Regions from separate parts of the Homo sapiens genome. Here region 1 is linked to region 2. Evidence: promoter capture Hi-C in 16 types of primary human blood cells and fetal thymus (Javierre and others, 2016). All regions are on one chromosome and are shown on one strand. Each heading gives the region's core, a stretch centred on a gene start or on the middle of the fragment in contact. The rest is flanking DNA. Distances are from core to core; before and after follow the strand shown.

Region 1 (4,598 bases), core at 1,395-3,894, 720 kb before region 2:
GTGCCTTCATCTTAGCTCCTGTACTTTGCCTCTCCCACCCCACTGGTTTTCCTGCCTCCCTCTTCAGAGGTAAGACACATGGCTGGACCAAGGCCTCCAGGGTAAGTGACCCGAACTTCAAGCCAGCAGAGGCCATGTCATCCTAAGCTAGGGATAGGGGAGGCTCGCCGGGATGAGCCTTTGGCTTAACCTAACCTCTGCTCCCTACTTCTGCCTCACCCCAGTCTCAGATGACGGGAGGCCAATGCCAAAGACGGATAGGATCTATAGAGGCAGTCCTCTTCTAGGACTGGGACACAACAGTGCATGAGGCAACTGACAGGGGTGATGTAAAGCTGTTGTGTCTCCATCCTGGTTGCCCCAGTTCTAGCAGGTGATGTGACACTACGGTGGTCGCTGCCCAGATTGAGAAGTGGAAGGGGGTGTTGCTGGCCGCTAGAAACACTCATAATTCCACTGAGTTTGAGGCTCTGGTAGGGGCGCATGTGGGCATGGGAAGGAGCCCTGCACTCTGAGCACAGCCTCTCAGATGTAACGCAGTGGCTCTGGGAGGTCAAAGTCTCAGCCCAGTGGGAGCTCTGACAAAAGGAGGAGAAACCCCCCCAGTAGACATGTGGCTCTGTCTGATCCACTCCTGCCGCCCCTTCTGGCAACTTCCCTGGGGAGGGAGGACCTGCTTCCCAGCAGGACCTTCATCGAGTCACTGTAGGGGCAGGTAGAGTGGGCCAGGGAGCCACAGCTGAATGGCACTCAAGGGCCATCACTAGGCATTGCCTCTCCATTCCTGAGTGTGGGGCAAGGGTCCCTGCTGAGTTTTACTCTTAGCAGTGGGCTTCCAGATCCCCATGCTCCTGGGTTCTTGACTGCCTCCCTCTTCAGAGGTAAGACACATGGCTGGACCAAGGCCTCCAGGGTAAGTGACCCTCACCAGCTGCCTCTCTGTGTCCCTTACCTCCTCAGGGACAGCCCTGCCATCAAGGAAGACAGCACAGGACTGGGACCCACCCATGAACCCTTCTCAGGACAACCCAACAGCACCAGTGGGGATGTTCTCCTAAGCCGCAGAGGGCCTGGGCACGCCATCCGTCCTCCAGGAAGAGCCATGGTGTTAATGCAGGACAAGGGCAGCTCTCAGCAGTGGCCTGGTCTGGGGGGCGAGGGTGGTGGCACAGGTCCCTTAAGCATGCTCAGAGCTGCCCTGCTGCTCATCAGCCTGCCATGGGGGGCCCAAGGGACAGCCAGCACCAGCCTCAGCACTGCTGGGGGTCACACCGTGCCACCGACTGGGGGCCGCTACTTGAGCATTGGAGATGGCTCTGTGATGGAGTTTGAGTTTCCTGAGGACAGTGAGGGCATCATCGTGATCTCCAGCCAGTACCCAGGCCAGGCCAACAGGACGGCGCCTGGCCCCATGCTCAGGGTCACCTCCCTGGACACAGAGGTGCTGACCATCAAGAACGTGAGTGCTATAACCTGGGGAGGCGGGGGTGGCTTTGTGGTGAGCATCCACTCAGGCCTGGCTGGGCTGGCCCCACTCCACATCCAGCTCGTGGACGCCCATGAGGCCCCGCCCACACTGATTGAGGAGCGGAGAGACTTCTGCATCAAGGTCTCACCTGCTGAAGACACGCCTGCCACCCTCAGCGCCGACCTGGCCCACTTCTCGGAAAACCCAATCCTCTACCTGCTCCTGCCTCTTATCTTTGTCAACAAGTGTTCGTTTGGGTGCAAAGTGGAACTCGAGGTTCTGAAGGGGCTCATGCAGAGCCCCCAGCCCATGCTGCTGGGCCTCCTGGGCCAGTTTCTGGTCATGCCCTTGTACGCTTTCCTCATGGCCAAGGTCTTCATGCTGCCCAAGGCCCTGGCTCTGGGCCTCATCATCACCTGCTCGTCGCCTGGCGGCGGGGGGAGCTACCTCTTCAGCCTCCTTCTTGGAGGGGACGTCACCCTGGCCATCTCCATGACTTTCCTCTCTACGGTGGCTGCCACTGGCTTCTTGCCTCTGTCTTCGGCCATCTACAGCCGCCTGCTCAGCATCCATGAGACGCTCCACGTGCCCATCTCCAAGATCCTGGGGACCCTGCTGTTCATTGCCATCCCCATAGCCGTGGGCGTGCTGATCAAGTCCAAGCTCCCCAAGTTCTCCCAGCTGCTGCTGCAGGTCGTCAAGCCCTTCAGCTTTGTGCTCCTCCTGGGCGGCCTCTTCCTGGCCTATCGCATGGGGGTCTTCATCCTGGCAGGCATCCGGCTACCCATCGTACTGGTGGGTATCACGGTGCCCCTGGTTGGCCTGTTGGTGGGCTACTGCCTAGCCACGTGTCTGAAGCTGCCAGTGGCCCAGCGGCGGACGGTCAGCATTGAGGTAGGGGTGCAGAACAGCCTGCTGGCCTTGGCCATGCTGCAGCTATCCCTCCGCCGCCTTCAAGCTGACTATGCCTCCCAGGCCCCCTTCATTGTGGCGCTGAGCGGCACCTCCGAGATGCTGGCCTTGGTCATTGGCCACTTCATCTACAGCAGCCTGTTCCCAGTTCCCTGAGGCCTCTGGGTCAAGCTTTCATCAGCCCCAGCCCCCACACTCCACCAAAGTTCTCATGCACTATGCACTCAGAAAAATCCAGGCTTATTTTTTTTACTGATTTTTTATTCTCCAGCTTTCAGTGCCAAAGAGGCCATGCTGAGTTAGGTAGGTGGGCGCTGCCCAGAAAATATATTTCAATAAAAGAGAGAAGCAAGCTTGGGTCCCTTCTACTCTTTGCCCTTTGGGGCCTGGGCGTGGGGGTAGAAAGAGTGTGCTGGGTAAGTGTGGACCAGGGTGGAGGGCCAGCTTGGGTGACACGGTGACCCCTGCATAGGCTTTCCCTATCAGCCCTCCCCGGGGGTGTCCCCACTCTGGGAGAGGTGGGAGGATGAGGGCAGAGGCGTAGCCCCCCTGCCCCCTCTCAAGCTCAGTGGAGCGTTTCGCAGCCAGACCAGAAAGGAGGAGGTAGGAAGCCACCAGACAGGGAGCGGGGGCGGGCCGTCTGTGGGTATGCAGGGCCAGGCGCCGCCAGCAGTCCTGGCGCGTGAGGTGGGCCAGGCAGTCCGCGGGGGCGAGCGTACCTTCTGGCCCTCCCTTCTCCATGTCCCAGCTCCCAGATGACGCCAACCTGGCCCGACTGGTTCCTGCTCCCAACTCCCCCGCGTCGTTGCTTTGGGAGGGGTCCGCCGGCCAGGGCGGTCGATGCGCGCATGCTAGGCGGGACCCCGGGGGGACTCCTCCCGGGGCGCAATTGGGCCGGGGGGCGGGGCCGGGGCGCGGACGGGGCAGGAGGGCGGGGCCGGGAAGCGCGGGCGGCGGGCGCGCCCCTCTCGCTGCTTCCGGCGGCGGCGGGCGGTTCCAGCGCGCGCCCGGGGCGGCGGCGCGCGGCGGGGGGTGGTTGGGGTGCGCGCCGGCCCGAGTGGACGCCGTCGCGACCGCCATGCAGCTGACGGTGAAGGCGCTGCAGGGCCGCGAGTGCAGCCTGCAGGTAGGGTCCCCGGGCCGGGCCGCCGGGTCCGGCGCGCTCTCTCGCCCGCTCCTGGCAGGGGGACCGGCAGGGCCGAGGGCGGGCACGGGGCGGCCGGGCCGAGGGCCGGGAGCCGGGAGAGCTGCCCTCGGGGGCGGACGCGTGGGCTTCGCCGTCTGGGGGCCGCGGGCTCAACCCTTGCCTCCCACCCTCCGCGCGGCCAGGTGCCAGAGGACGAGCTGGTGTCCACGCTGAAGCAGCTGGTCTCCGAGAAGCTGAACGTCCCAGTGCGCCAGCAGCGGCTGCTGTTCAAGGGCAAGGCCCTGGCAGGTACCCAGGGAGAGGAGACGCCCGGGGAGCCCCGCAGGAAGCGGGACCGGGGTGCGCGGGCCGAGGCCAGCAGCCGTGTGTCGGGTCGGGGTGCGGGCGCCAAGCGCCACATGACCCCAAGGGAGGCGGCCGCATGCCTCACAGCCGGATGCCGCAGCGCTCCGCTCCCGCCGCCCGAGGCGGCCTCGCGCCCCGGGCCACCCCCACGGCGGTGGAGGAGGAGGAACCCATCGATCTGTCTTTGGCAGATGGGAAACGACTCTCGGATTATAGCATCGGGCCCAACTCCAAGCTCAACCTAGTGGTCAAACCCCTGGAGAAGGTGCTACTAGAAGAAGGCGAGGCCCAGAGGCTGGCCGACTCCCCACCCCCGCAGGTCTGGCAGCTGATCTCCAAAGTCTTGGCCCGCCACTTCAGTGCGGCAGATGCCAGCAGGGTCCTGGAACAGCTACAGAGGGTGAGAAGGGTAACCCTGGGCATCCTCTTCAGGCCCAGTTGCTCCCAGCCCCTACCTCTGTTGCAGTGTATGCCCCCCCACCACTGGCAGCCCCTGAATCTTCCTGCCCTTCTCTCCCCAGGATTACGAGAGGTCCCTGAGTCGCCTGACGCTGGACGACATCGAACGGTTGGCCAGCCGCTTCCTGCACCCTGAAGTGACTGAGACAATGGAGAAGGGCTTCTCCAAATAGAATTCTCGGAGCATGGGGAGGTGCCCAACGCCAGGCTACCGCTGCATGTCGCACTAAGTGTGTTCTCCTGTTGCAGTTGGGCTCATCATCATCA
Region 2 (4,412 bases), core at 209-2,708:
CTATCTGGGGCAGTGTCTGCCATGAGGGAGGCTGCAGCCTGTATGTCCTGGGCCTGGCCACAGCCATCCTGCCCTACCCTGCCCCTCCCAGGAACATTTCTGGGGACACCGGGCCTGGGCACTTACCATGAAGTGGTGCAGCAGAGGGGTCTCCTGGGCGGCGTGGCACATACGCTCAGTTCAGCTGCCCCAGGGCAGTGGCGATGGGCATGAGATGGCTGCGGGGGGGCATTGTCCTGAGTGGGAGGGAGACAGTCGAGGCTCAGCCCCATTCGAGCTGGCCTGGGGAAGGAGGGGCGGCGGTGGGGGTGGCGCCCAGGGCCTAGCGACCGGGCTCCCTCACAGCTGGCAGCTTTGTCAATAGTGGCCAGGCCAAGGCAGCCCTGCCTCCACCACAACAATGTTCCCTCTGTCCAGAGGCCAGGCCAGGGCCCCACTCGCTAGTGCTGTCACCCCCACTGGGCTGTTCTGGACAGGGGGCTCCTTGCCACTTCCCACCCTCAGGGAGCCACCCCCGGGATCCGGGGACAAAGGGCCGGGGTTTCCTCCAGCCAGCCCTCCCCCTCTGGCCCTGCAACCCCTGTGTCACTAAGCATGCCCCTCCCTGGCTCCCCGGGTCCCTGTGAAGGGCACGGGGTGGACCTTGGAGCCCCTGCAAATGCCGGCTGGTAGCCTTGGGGCCTGGGTGAAGTGCCAGTCCTGGCCCTCAATGCCTGCCTTTGTCCAAAAGATCTTCCTCCACACCCCCAGCCCAGCCCTGCCCCTGGGGACTGGTGAAGTGGTGCCAGGTACAGCATGGTGGCAGCGAGCAGGACCACGGGAGGAGGCTGCTTGAGATGGGCTGAGGCAGAGGGTCCACAGGCCGGGGCTGTCCACCCCACCCTCTGAAGCACCGTCCTGCTGGCCTAGATGCCATCCATGCAGGGGATGGGGAAGGGAGGGGCACCTAGCAGCTAGACCCCCTGTCACCCTCACAGGCCACCCTGGCCAGTGGCACAGGAGCAGGTGCACTGGGGATGGGGTCTCTGCCTCCCCCACAGCACGGCAGCAGTAGGCTCCAGGGCAAGGTGGCAGTGGGCTGCTGTCACCTGGCTGGGCCAGTTGGGTGGCTGTGGGGGTGGGGAGCCAGGCGGGCAGCCTCTCTACCCTGTACCCTGCCCGAGGCTGGCGTTGGCTTTCCCATTTCGGGGAAGAAACATGGTTCCCCACCTCCTAACCCCAGGGCTACCACTTGGGGGACACCGTGCTCCCAGACACCTAGTGCCGTCGTCAGGCTGGGCCGACACCCGAGCGCTCTTGCCTGACCCCAGCCAGTTGGCCCTGAGACCCTGATGCCTTGCCCTGAGGCTGGTAGCCCCTGCACCCCAAGCCCAAGCCCAAGCCTGCCCCAGCTCTTGCCTACCTGGTGGGCCACCGGCGAGGGCCAAGTAGCAGCTGGCGGTGCCAGGAGCACGTCTCACAGAGCCCCAGCCTCCCTCCCCACAATGCAATCGTGCCCAGTCCGACTCATCCCAACAAGCCCGGCCAGGCAGCCCAGCCTCTCTCCGCCCGCCCCTTTGCCCAATGGCACAGGGCAGGATGTTGCTGCCCTCTGCTGGCCGCAGCGGGCATGATGGAGTACTGACCGTGGGCACCTGGCAGGTGAGAGACGGCAGCGCCCTCCTATTGGGTGGGCATTCCATAACCTGGCACGAAGCACCTACTGGATGCCAGGCTTGGGCTTGGCACTGGCACCATCCAGAAACAAACACAGGTTGGGAAACTGAGGCACAGGAGGTTAGGAAACTTGAATAAAGTCACACAGCTAGTATGTGGCAAGGCTGAGTCAATCACAGGGCCCCTTCACTTAACCGTCAGGCTACATGACCTTGAACCATGAACCTTGGCAGGCGTTGGGCAGGAGATGGAGCTGAGGCCTACCCCAGGCCAGGCCTGGACGTGACATGCCCACGTGGCGTTGAGGAAAAACCAGTGTTTCCCACCGACTGGAACACAAGGTTGGTCAAGGGCCGTCTCCCAGGGTGTGGCGGAGGTCAGCAAATCAGGTGGGGTCTTTGTGGCCAGGCTTGAGAACTTGAACTTGTCTCGCCATGGGCAACTGCAAGCTGGTGGCACTGGGGCAGAGAATGTGGGGAGGCCTGGTCCAGTGGTGGTCATGGGCATGGAGAGAGGCGGGCGCGTTCTAGAGGCGCTCTGGGGAGGCAGCATTCTGAAGACTGTGCGTTGGACCCAGGGCAGGAGGCGAAGGCAGGAGAATCCAGGCGACCCTGGGGCTTTTCTGCTGGGGCACTGTTCCCCCTGTGGCAGGGCCATCCACAGAGGGGCTGGCGGAAGTGGGAGGACGGTAAGACTGAGGGGCCCATGAGGGAGGAGGAAATGGTGATGGGGCTGGGGAGGCCTGGGGGTGAGAAGCTTGGCTCAGGTGGCTGGAGCCCTGGGGGCGGCCAGGGTATAGGGCCAGGTGTTGGCCCTGGAGCTCAAAGGCCCAGCAGACTCGGGGTATGGGTGCTTCCCTGAGCAGCTGTGTCATTCTTTCCAACCTGCATGGAGAGAAATGGGGCACAGAGGTGGGTAACTTGCCCAGGGCCATGACCTGACGTCGTTTCTTCAGAGTGCATTCCACAGAGATGGGATTTGAACCTGGGCATTCTGGCACGGGCCACGCTCTGGACCACTGGGCCCCAGATCCACAGCTTCTCACCTGCAGCCGCTGAGGATGTGGAGGCAGACCAGGCAGGCCCGTGGGAAGGACCACCAAAAAGCGAGTGAGCAGCCGGCGAGGGGTCTCTCCCCAACAGGAAGGCCAGGCAGCCTTGAAGGAGCCAGGGAGGGATTTAGAAGCTCCAGGAGGGGAGGCTTGGGGGAGCCAGCTGGCCTCTCTCCCTCTCCCTGTCCTTCCCCCCATGCCTACCCCAACACACACACACATGTCCTTGCTGGCCCCGGATGAGACAGACGCCTGCAATCTGGCATGGGGAATGGGTTTCTCCTTCCTTTCCACAGAAGAAAATAAATCAGGCTGGGCGTCGTGGCTCCCGCCTGTAATCCCAGCACTTTGGGAGCCTAAGGCAGCAGGATCACTTGGGCCCAGGAGTTCTAGACCAGCATGGGCAACATAGTGAGACCCCCATCTCTATAAAAAAATTTAAAAATTAGCCAGGCATGGTGGTGCGAGCCTGTAGTCCCAGCTACTTGGGAGGCTGAAGTGGGAGGATCGCCTGAGCCTGGGAGTTGGTGCCTGCAGTGAGCCGTGATGGTGCCATTGCACTCTAGCCTGGGTGACAGTGCAAGACTCTGTCTTTAAAAAAAAAAGAAAAGAAAGAAAGAAAAAAGAAAATAAATCCATCCACAGGCAGCACCATTTTCATAAATATGTGTGTATATGGCCTGCATATGCACCTTCTACGCTTTCTGAGCAGATAAGAGGCGTGGCTATGGCAGCCCCTGGTCTGAAGCTGGTGTAACCAGAAAGGATCTAGGCTGGTTTGGGGAACCGGAACATCTTATGTCAGGGGAGTCGTGCTGGATTTATCCTGCAATGGCCGGGTCCCCTCACCAAGGGATGGGAAGGCAGCGTCAACTGATCTGGTGTCGTCTCCTTGCTGTGTGCCAGGCTTCTCAATGCTGGAAGGGGACTCGTTGGGTCAGTGGGACGTGGGCTTCACGTTTGCTGGGCTGAAGACGTAGCTCTCCATGCTGGCATCCCAGCGGACACCCCCACTGCCACTGCTGCACCACGTCTTCACGTACACCAGAGAGCAGACTTGAGAGTTTCTGCGCATACAGTGGGTGTGAAATGGTGCCCTGCTGGGTTTTGAATCGGCATTCCTTGACCACCGGCCATATTGCAGCACTTTTCATTTCTTCTGTCAAATGCCCGTGCATGTCTTGGCTTACACTTTGCAGGTGTTCTGTATTTTCCACACCAATCCCTGGGGTGTATGTCTTCGGCCTACCTGTTACTTGTCTTCTCAGTTTGCTGATGTATCATGTGATAAACAGAAAGTCTTAATTTTAATATCATAGCATTTATCAATCTGATTTCTTTTTTTGAGACGGGGTCTCGCTCTGTCGTGCAGGCTGGGGTGCATTGGCGCAATCATGGCTCACTGAAGCCTCCTGGGCTCAAGTGATCCTCCCACCTTAGCCTCCCAAACACCTGGGACTACAGGCAGGCGCCACAGTGCCTGGCTAATTTTGTAATTTTTTTGTAGAGACAGGGTCTCGCTATGTTGCCCAGGCTGGTCTCAAACTCCTGGACTCAAGCGGCCCTCCCGCCTTGGCTTCCCAAAGTGCTGGCCCGTGAGCCTGTGAGCCACTGCGCCTGGCTACCTTCTTTTGAATTCCCATTCAGACTGTGTGTTGCTGGTACATAGAAAAACAATGGATTTCTATGTATCAAGTAACCTTGT

What was found. The method cuts DNA at HindIII sites, captures the fragments that hold promoters and counts their contacts. A CHiCAGO score of 5 or more calls a contact.
Region 1: a contact is called between a fragment that was not itself captured here and the fragment with the promoter of PLXNB3 in region 2, in 1 of 17 cell types (total B cells). The highest score is 5.5, in total B cells.

What each region holds. Positions count from the first base shown.
Region 1 is chrX:154,485,445-154,490,042 of GRCh38, reverse strand. UBL4A (ubiquitin like 4A) reads left to right here and starts at 3,428. Exons shown (of 4, transcript NM_014235.5): 1 at 3,428-3,506; 2 at 3,710-3,815; 3 at 4,064-4,272; 4 at 4,394-4,598. The coding sequence starts at 3,459. The coding sequence ends at 4,504. It overlaps SLC10A3 (solute carrier family 10 member 3), which reads left to right. Exons shown (of 2, transcript NM_019848.5): 2 at 961-2,732. The coding sequence starts at 1,103. The coding sequence ends at 2,536. RefSeq lists enhancers at 2,825-2,884, 3,222-3,980, 3,981-4,598 and silencers at 3,145-3,404, 3,895-4,044. The HindIII fragment of the contact is 182 bases long and covers 2,554-2,735 here.
Region 2 is chrX:153,761,295-153,765,706 of GRCh38, reverse strand. It overlaps PLXNB3 (plexin B3), which reads right to left and starts at 1,458. Exons shown (of 36, transcript NM_005393.3): 1 at 1,403-1,458; 2 at 127-236. The coding sequence starts at 171. PLXNB3-AS1 (PLXNB3 antisense RNA 1) reads left to right here. Exons shown (of 3, transcript NR_199696.1): 2 at 1,858-1,997. The HindIII fragment of the contact is 7,823 bases long and covers 1-2,414 here.